Regions from separate parts of the Homo sapiens genome. Here all the other regions are linked to region 2. Evidence: promoter capture Hi-C in human tissues and cell types (Jung and others, 2019). All regions are on one chromosome and are shown on one strand. Each heading gives the region's core, a stretch centred on a gene start or on the middle of the fragment in contact. The rest is flanking DNA. Distances are from core to core; before and after follow the strand shown.

What was found. Contacts are between HindIII fragments. The study calls those that stand out against the background at their distance.
Region 1: the fragment with the promoter of PLVAP here is called in contact with the fragment with the promoter of FCHO1 in region 2 in 2 of the 25 tissues and cell types used here (spleen and stomach).
Region 3: the fragment with the promoter of IL12RB1 here is called in contact with the fragment with the promoter of FCHO1 in region 2 in 1 of the 25 tissues and cell types used here (H1 embryonic stem cells).

The regions. Positions count from the first base shown.
Region 1 is chr19:17,376,082-17,378,781 of GRCh38, forward strand. It overlaps PLVAP (plasmalemma vesicle associated protein), which reads right to left and starts at 1,261. Exons shown (of 6, transcript NM_031310.3): 1 at 839-1,261. The coding sequence starts at 1,207. The HindIII fragment of the contact is 34,336 bases long and covers 1-2,700 here.
Region 2 is chr19:17,750,102-17,752,801 of GRCh38, forward strand. It overlaps FCHO1 (FCH and mu domain containing endocytic adaptor 1), which reads left to right and starts at 1,376. Exons shown (of 29, transcript NM_015122.3): 1 at 1,376-1,476. It overlaps FCHO1-AS1 (FCHO1 antisense RNA 1), which reads right to left and starts at 1,296. Exons shown (of 5, transcript XR_007067152.1): 1 at 1,115-1,296; 2 at 557-649. The HindIII fragment of the contact is 16,973 bases long and covers 1-2,700 here.
Region 3 is chr19:18,085,556-18,088,255 of GRCh38, forward strand. IL12RB1 (interleukin 12 receptor subunit beta 1) reads right to left here and starts at 1,379. Exons shown (of 17, transcript NM_005535.3): 1 at 1,205-1,379. The coding sequence starts at 1,268. RefSeq lists enhancers at 1,291-1,640, 1,651-1,710. The HindIII fragment of the contact is 62,137 bases long and covers 1-2,700 here.

The sequences.
Region 1 (2,700 bases), core at 11-2,510, 370 kb before region 2:
GCAGGAGGATTGCTGGAGCCCAGGATGTCAAGGCTTCAGTGAGCTATGCTCACATCACTGTGCTCCAGCCTGGGTGACAGAGTGAGACCCTGCCTCCAAAAAAAAGAAAAGAAATAAAAAAAATTTAGCTGGACGCAGTGCCCCACACCTGTAATCCCAGCAGTTTGGGAGGCTGGGGTGAGAGGATTGCTTGAGCCCAGGAGTTCGAGACTAGCCTGGGCAACATAGTGAGACCTCATCTCTGCTAAATATAAACATATTAGCTGGGTGTGGTGGTGCACGCCTGTAGTCCCAGCTACTCAGGAGGCTGAGGCAAGAGGATCACTTGAGTCCAGGAGATTGAGGTTGCAGTGAGCTGTGATAGCAATTGCACTCCATCCAGCCCAGGATACACATGGAGACCCTGTCTCTTAAGGAAAAAAAAAAAATCTATCGGCCGGGTGCAGTGGCTCACGCTTGTAATCCCAACAATTTGGGAGGCCAAGGCAGGCGTATCACTTGAGGTCAGGAGTTTGAGACCAGCCTGGCCAACATGGTGAAACCCCATCTCTACTAAAAATACAAAAATGAGCCGGTTATGATGGCACATGCCTGTAATCCCAGCTACTCGGGAGGCTGAGGCAGGAGAATCACTCCAACCCAGGAGGCAGAGGTTGCAGTGAGCCGAGATTGCACCACTGCACTCCAGCCTGGGAGACGGAGCGAGACTCTGTCTCATAAGAAAAGAGAGCATTGGTCCTGTGATCGTCCCCCTCTCTTGGATGAGGAAACTCAGGCTCAGAGAGGTGAGGGGGCTTGCTCAGGGTCCCCAGGGCGAGTGTCCTGCCCACAGCCTTACCCGGTCACCCTGGCACTGGCGGAAGCTGGCATTGATGCGGTCCAGGTCGCGGCGAGCATTCAGCCACATCTGCATGATGGCATCCTTGGCGCGGGTGGTGAAGTTGAGCTCCTTGGTCAAGTTGGACTGGGAGGCCGTGAGCCCTAGGAGCTGACTGTATAGGCCCTCGGCTCGGCGCTCGGTGGCCTGCAGGTTGGACTCTGTGCTCACGTGCACGTTGCCATAGACCATGAAGAGCACGAGCCCCAGGATGATGAGGAATTGGATGAGGGAGACGAAGAGGAAGAAGTAGCGCAGGTAATACCAGCAGCCCCGAGAGCTGCCCCCCGCCCGAGCGTAGGACCCTCCGTGCTCCATGGCCAGACCCATTTGCTCGATCCCGCCGTCCGGTGCACCGTCCCTGCTCACCACCAGGCCTGCTCTGGCCCCCGCCTCGCAGGGGGGAGTGCTTATATTACTCCTCTTAATACTTCCTCTGCCTGGCTCCTTCCTGGCCCGGAGGAAACGGGGGCTGCGGGTTATCACAACACTCCCACTCTGGCTGTGAGAAGGCGGGGGTGGGGCTGGGGGCCCAGAGCCAGGGCACCGGCTGGACCCCTCTGATTAATGCTGGGTGGGGCGCTGGCTGGCTGGTCAGGCATTCCTGGCCTCTTCGAGCCTCGCGTTCGCCTTTACTTGCTGGCGGGTGCTGTTCTCAGTACCTGCTGTGATTAGGTCGCTGAATCATGCCAGGTCTGTTGCTGTCTCCCTTGTGTGGCGGAGGAAACTGAGGCACAGGGAGGAGAAGGGGTTGCCTCGGGGTCTCACGCTGTTAGTTCAGCGAACTTGACTTACCTCAAGACAGGCTGGCTACAGACGTGCACCCACTTCACCAGGGCGGTGCTGATTAAGTGCCACAAAACGTGGGAAATGTGCCAGGCACGGTGGCTCACGCCTATAATCCCAGCACTTTGGGAGGCTGAGGCGGACGGATCACCTGAGGTCAGAAGTTTGAGACCAACCCGGTCACCGTGGTGAAACCCCCCGTCTCTACTAAAAATACAAAACTTAGCCAGGTGTGGTGGTGCTCGCCTGTAATTCCAGCTACCCAGGAGGCTGAGGCAGGAGAATCGCTTGAACCCAGGAGTCGGAGGTTGCGGTGAGCAGAGATCGTGCCATTGCACTCCAGCCTGGGGTATAGAGCAAGACTCTGTTTCAAAAAAAAAAAAAAACAGAAAAAGTGTGAAACTCTTAGCTAGCCTAGGGATGGAGAAGCAGTAGGTGATTAGTAATTGCATAGGAGGGCGTCACGGAGGGCTGAGCCATGGATGGCGGTGGCGCTGGCTCCCCAAGCTCTGTCATTGCCCCCAGTGCCCTGTTCACTTAGATGCTCAGTAAATGCTCCAGGAAACTGCAGCACAAGGAATAATGAACTTGGAGCGGGGAAGAGCTGGCTTTGTCCCGGGAGAGCTCGGGCAAGAGGCCTCGCATGTCTGTGCCTCCCTTTTCCCCTTTGTGAGACGGGGTATACCCAGTGCCTCGTCACTCTGTGGCTGTTGTTATGATTAGGATCATTTCCTGCTGGAGGCACTGCTGGGGGCTCCGTGAGATGGTGAATGACAAGTGGTGGATACGTGGGACTGAGATTCCTCCCCCGACACTCAAAACCCCATGGGCGGCCGGGCATAGTGGCTCACACCTGTAATCTCAGCACTTTGTGAGGCTGAGGCAGGCGGATCACCTGAGGTCAGGAGTGCGAGACCAGCCTGGCCAATATGGTGAAACCCCATCTCCACTAAAAATACAAAAATTAGCCGTGTGTGGTGGCGAGCACCTGTAATCCCAGCTGCTTGGGAAGCTGAGGCAGGAGAACCACTTGAACC
Region 2 (2,700 bases), core at 126-2,625:
CTGCTCACATGTCTCAGCCCCAGGTTTGCAAGACTTGGTGCCGGGAAGGCAGGATGGGGACCTCTGAGTCAGCTGGCAATGTGCTGTGTAACCTTGGGCAAGTCTCCGGCCATCTCTGGGCTTTGTGCTGGTACTGTACAGGCTGGGAGACTTGGGTTCTAGCAGGGCTGACTTCTCCATCAGACCCAAAATGCCCAGTGTCTCAGGCTCACAGTGCTTTTAGGGGTCCCTAGGTTGATGTTTTCACTTCTTTTAAAATCCAAAGGGAAAAAAATGAACTCTTGGGTTGAAGGAAACATTTTTGTGTATAATATTAATATATTTGTCTTTATGTCAATGTAGTTGTAAAATACAGTTTTGTTTTGTTTTGTTTTTGAGACAGAGTCTCTCTCTGTCACCCAGGCTGGAGTGCAGTGGCTCGATCTCCGCTCACTGCAACCTCCATCTCCTGGGTTCAAGCGATTCTCCTGCCTCAGCCTCCCGAGTAGCTGGGATTACAGGCATATGCCACCCCACCCAGCTAACTTTTGTATTTTTAGTAGAGACGGGGTTTTACCATGTTGCCCAGGCTGTTCTCGCACTCCTGGGCTCAAGCAATCCACCTGCCTCGGCCTCCCAAAGTGCTGGGATTCCAGGCATCAGCCACCACCTAAAATATAATTTTAAATTTCTTTTGTAGTGAAGGAAAGCGCTCATGAATGCAAAAATGTCTTCCCCTTTCTTTTCTTTTTTTTTTTTTTTTGAGATGGAGTCTCGCTCTGTCGCCAGGCTGGAGTGCAGTGGCGCAATCTCGGCTCACTGCAACCTCTGGCTCACTGCAACCTCCACCTCCCGGGTTCAAGTGATTCTCCTGCCTCAGCCTCCTGAGTAGCTGGGACTACAGGCATGGGCCACCACGCCCAGCTAATTTTTGTATTTTTAGTAGAGACGGGGTTTCACCGTGTTGGCCAGGATAGTGTCAACCTCTTGACCTCGTGATCCACCCACCTTGGCCTCTCAAAGTGCTGGGATTACAGGCGTGAGCCACCGCGCCTGGCCATGTCTTCCCCTTTCTGAGCGCATTTCCCTCTCTGAGCCTCAGTTTGCCCAGTCTGTGAAGTGGGTATCGGCCTACCTCAGGATGGCAAGATGTTGAATGCCTGGGCCAGGGTTGGTGCTCAGTTATTTCCCAATTGCCATGATTAATATTTGTTCGGTAAGAACAGCTCCAGGTTCAGGCCGGGGGGCTCCAGGTTCAAGCGCCTCTTGTTTACTCACCCATGGCCTGTGTGGTTCCAGGGAGGTCCCATGGGTGCTGATCGGGCGGGGGAGGAAAGGTGGCGGTTGGATGGTAGGCGGGGCGGGGTGAGCTTCCTGTCCCCCCCCCAACCCATGCACACAAGCCTCCAACTTGGTGCTGACGGAAGTGGCCTCGTGGCTGTCTCCTGGCGCCTGCCCCGTCAGACAGGGGCCCCATCCCACTCGCTACCCTGTCCGGTGAGTTTGAGCCCTGGCCAGTAGATACCCATCATCTCGCCTTGGCCCCCCTCAGGAACAGAGGGGAGGCCCCCCTGCCCGGAGCCTGGGTTTCAGGAGAAGTAGCAGGTGTCACTTCCTGGGCTGGCCAAAGCCTGCATGGGGCCACCCGTTGCCCTGCCCCCCGTCCCCCATTCCAGCTGTGAGTGGTGGTTTGGGTTAGGGGGGCGGCAAGGGGAGCTTGGAAACCCAGAGAGCCACGCGTGATGGTTTCAAACAGGAGGTCATTGGCAGACAGACCAGGGGCAAAATCACAGTCAGCCGGGACCAATGATTGATCTCTCTGTGCCTCGGTTTCCTTCATAAAGTTGGGGTTGCCTCTGAGGGCATGGCATGAAGATTGGATGAGCAGATGCGTGTGAATAGTTGGGTACAGGGTCGCACACATACTGGTGCTCCATGTGTATCTGTCTGCCAGAGGTGGGGTGAGGCAATCTAATTGAAACTGTGAAAACAGTAGTGAGATTCTTGGTTTCTGGGGAACTTGGGCTCCTTGGTTCCTGGGATCTTCTAGAACAATGTTGGCCATCCAATACAGCAGCCATCAGCCCCATGTAGCTACTGAGCCTTGGAAGAGAGGCTGGCACAGCTGAGGAGCTGGGCATATAATTGTATGTATGTATGTATGTATGTATGTATGTATTTAATTATTATTTTTTTAAGACAGAATCTCACTCTTTCAACCAGGTTGGAGTGCAGTGGGGCAATCTTGGCTCACTACAACCTCCGCCTCCCAGGTTCAAGTGATTCTCCTGCCTCATCCTCCCAAGTAGCTGGGACTACAGGTGTGTGCCACCACGCCCTGCTGATTTTTATATTTTTTGGTAGAGATGGGGTTTCACCATGTTGGCCAGGCAGGTCTCGAACTCCTGACCTCAAGTGATCCACCCACCTCGGCCTCCCAAAGTGCTGGGATTACAGGCGTGAGCCACTGCGCCCAGCCAATTGTATTTAATTTTACTTGGTTTAACATTAATACAAAAATTAATACAAAAATTAAGGCCAGGGGTTGTGGCTCATGGCTGTAATCCCAGCACTTTGGGGGTCCCAGGCAGGAGGATGGCTTGAGCTCAGGAGTTCGAGACTGGCCTGGGCCACACTAGTGAGACCTAGTCTCTACAAAAAAAAAAAAAAAAATTTATTTTTAATTAGTTAGACATGTAGTCCCAGCTACTCGGGTGGCTG
Region 3 (2,700 bases), core at 129-2,628, 340 kb after region 2:
CATTGAAAAAGTCAGCACCCCGCTGATCCCCAGTGTACAGAGAAGGAAAGTTTATTTATTATTATTATTATTGAGATAGAGTCTTGCTCTGCCACACAGGCTGGAATGCAGTGCTGCAATCTCGGCTCACTGCAACCTCTGCCTCCTGGGTTCAAGCGATCCTCCCACCTCAGCTCCTAAGTAGCTGGGAGTACAGGTGCCCATCATCAAGCCTGGCTAATTTTTGCATTTTTAGTAGAGATGGGGTTTCACCATGTTAGCCAGGCTGGTCTCGAACTCCTGACCTCAAGTGATCCACCCATCTTGGCCTCCCATAGTGCTGGATTTTCAGGAGTGAGTCACCGTGCAGGGCCTGAGATTATTAAAAGTATATGGGAAGGCTGGGCATGGTGGCTCATGCCTGTAATCTGAGCACTTTGGGAGGCCAAGGTGAGTGGATCATTTGAGCCCAGGAGTTCGAGACCAGCCTGGGCAACACAGCGAGACGCTGTCTCTGTAAAAAGTATACACCAAAAAAATTAACCAGGCATGGTAGTGTGCACCTGCAGTCCCAGCTACTCAAGGGGCTAAGGCAGGAGGATCACTTGAGCCCAGGTGGTCAAGGCTGCAATGAGTTATGATTAGGCCACTGCACTCCAGCCTGGGACACAGAGTGAGACCCTACCTCAGTAAATAAATAAATAAATAAATAAATAAATAAATAAATAAATAAATAAGTAAAGTATACGGAAGGATGTGCATAGGTTATATGCAAATACTTTACCATTTTATATCAGGAACTTGAGCATCTTTGGATTTTGGTATCTGCAGAGGGTCCTGGAACCATTGCCCCGTAAATATGGAAATGACTGTATACATTATATTATGTATGTCTATCTATTGTAAACTACATACATAAGATACTATACTATGTATACCTATTAGATACATACTTGCTTTTTATTCCTTCCTTAGTTTTTTTTCTCATTGAACTCCGGGAGGTGGAAAAAATTTAGTGCATTTCACAGAAGAGAAAATCTAGACCAGAGGAAAGATGTCTAAGTTCGATCCCAGAAGCCATGACTGCCCATCTCCCATTTGACAGCAGGAAAGACTGAGGCACAGAGAGATGAAACCAACCCACACAGCAGGCCCACAGCTCTCCACACATACACGTGCCTCCACCCAGCAAGAGGAGCCGCCATGCCAGGGTCAGGGGACTCACCGCCCTGCCTGGACAGCAGGAAGAGGAAGAGGAGGGGGACCACCCAGGTCACCAGCGGCTCCATCGGATCCACGTAGAGCCCCACAGCCCCAGGGGAGCCTCTCTGCCACCTGCGAGGTTCAGCCACCCCGTCCCCACTCCGGAACACATTGAAGCTGAGCAAGGAGAAAAGACTGAAAAAAAAGAAAAAAGAAAAAAAGTAAAGTGTCACAGCCCATCCCTAAGGCAAGTCAAAGTGAAAGAGAAACCCAGGAAGTCAGCTCCGTGGTGGTGGTGATGGTGGCGGCCACAGACTCTGGAGCAAGTCTGACTTTGGAGCAAGTCAGGGTTCTAGGGGGTTCTGCCCTGCTGGCCCCAGACCTGAACTGAACACCCAGATGCCAGCCCCATGGGCCCATGGGCCACCTGTGGTTCCATGCACTTGGCCAGGTCTCTGGCCCTCTCTAGCCAATTTTTTTTTTTTTTTTTGAGATGGAGCCCTGCTCTGTCGCCCGGGCTGGAGTGTGGTGGCATGATCTCCACTCACTGCAACTTCTGCCTCCCGGGTTCAAGCAATTCTCCTGCCTCAGCCTCCCGAGTAGCTGGAATTACAGGCAACTGCCACAACATCGAGCTAATTTTTGTATTTTTAGTAGAGACAGGGTTTCACCATGCTGGCCAGGCTGGTCTCGAACTCCTAACCCTAAGTGATCCACCCACCTCAGCCTCCCAAAGTGCTGGGATGACAGGCGTGAGCTACCGTGCCTGGCTGCCAAATTCTTTTTTTCTTCTTTTGAGATAGGGTCTTGATCTGTGGCCCAGCTGTAGTGCAGTGGTGCAATCACGGCTCACTGCAACATCAACCTCCCCAGGCTCAGGCCATCCTCCTACCTCAGCCTCCCCAGGAACTGGGACTACAGGCATGCACCACCACGCCCAGCTAATTTTTGCATTTTTTTTTTTTTAAGAGAGGGGGTTTTGCCATGTTGCCCAGGCTGGTCTCAAACTCCCGGGTTCAAATGATCCGTCCGCCTTGGCCTACCAAAATTCTGGGATCACAGGCGTGAGCCACCGCACCGGGCCATCTCGCCAGCTTCTGAATCTGAGACTCAAGAGCTGAAGGAGGGCAGTGTTCTTGGATGGCCTAATTTCATCCTTCCAACAAATTGTTACAAAGAGCTTGCAGCATGCTGGCCCTCCACAATGCCCACCTCCCCACATGCCAAGCTCCAGCCTTGTGCACCTGGGCTCACCCCTCTAATCCCAGCACTTTGAGAGGTCGAGGTGGGAGGATCACTTGACCCCAGGAGTTTGGGTCTACCTAAACAACATAGCAAGACCCCATCTCTATAAAAAATAAAGAATTAGGCCAGGCGCGGTGGCTCACGCCTGTAATCCCAGTACTTTGGGAGGCCAAGGCAGGTGGATCACGAGGTCAGGAGTTTGAGACCAGCCTGACCAAAATGGTGAAACCCTGTCTCTACTGAAAATACAAAAATTAACCGGGTGTGGTGGCA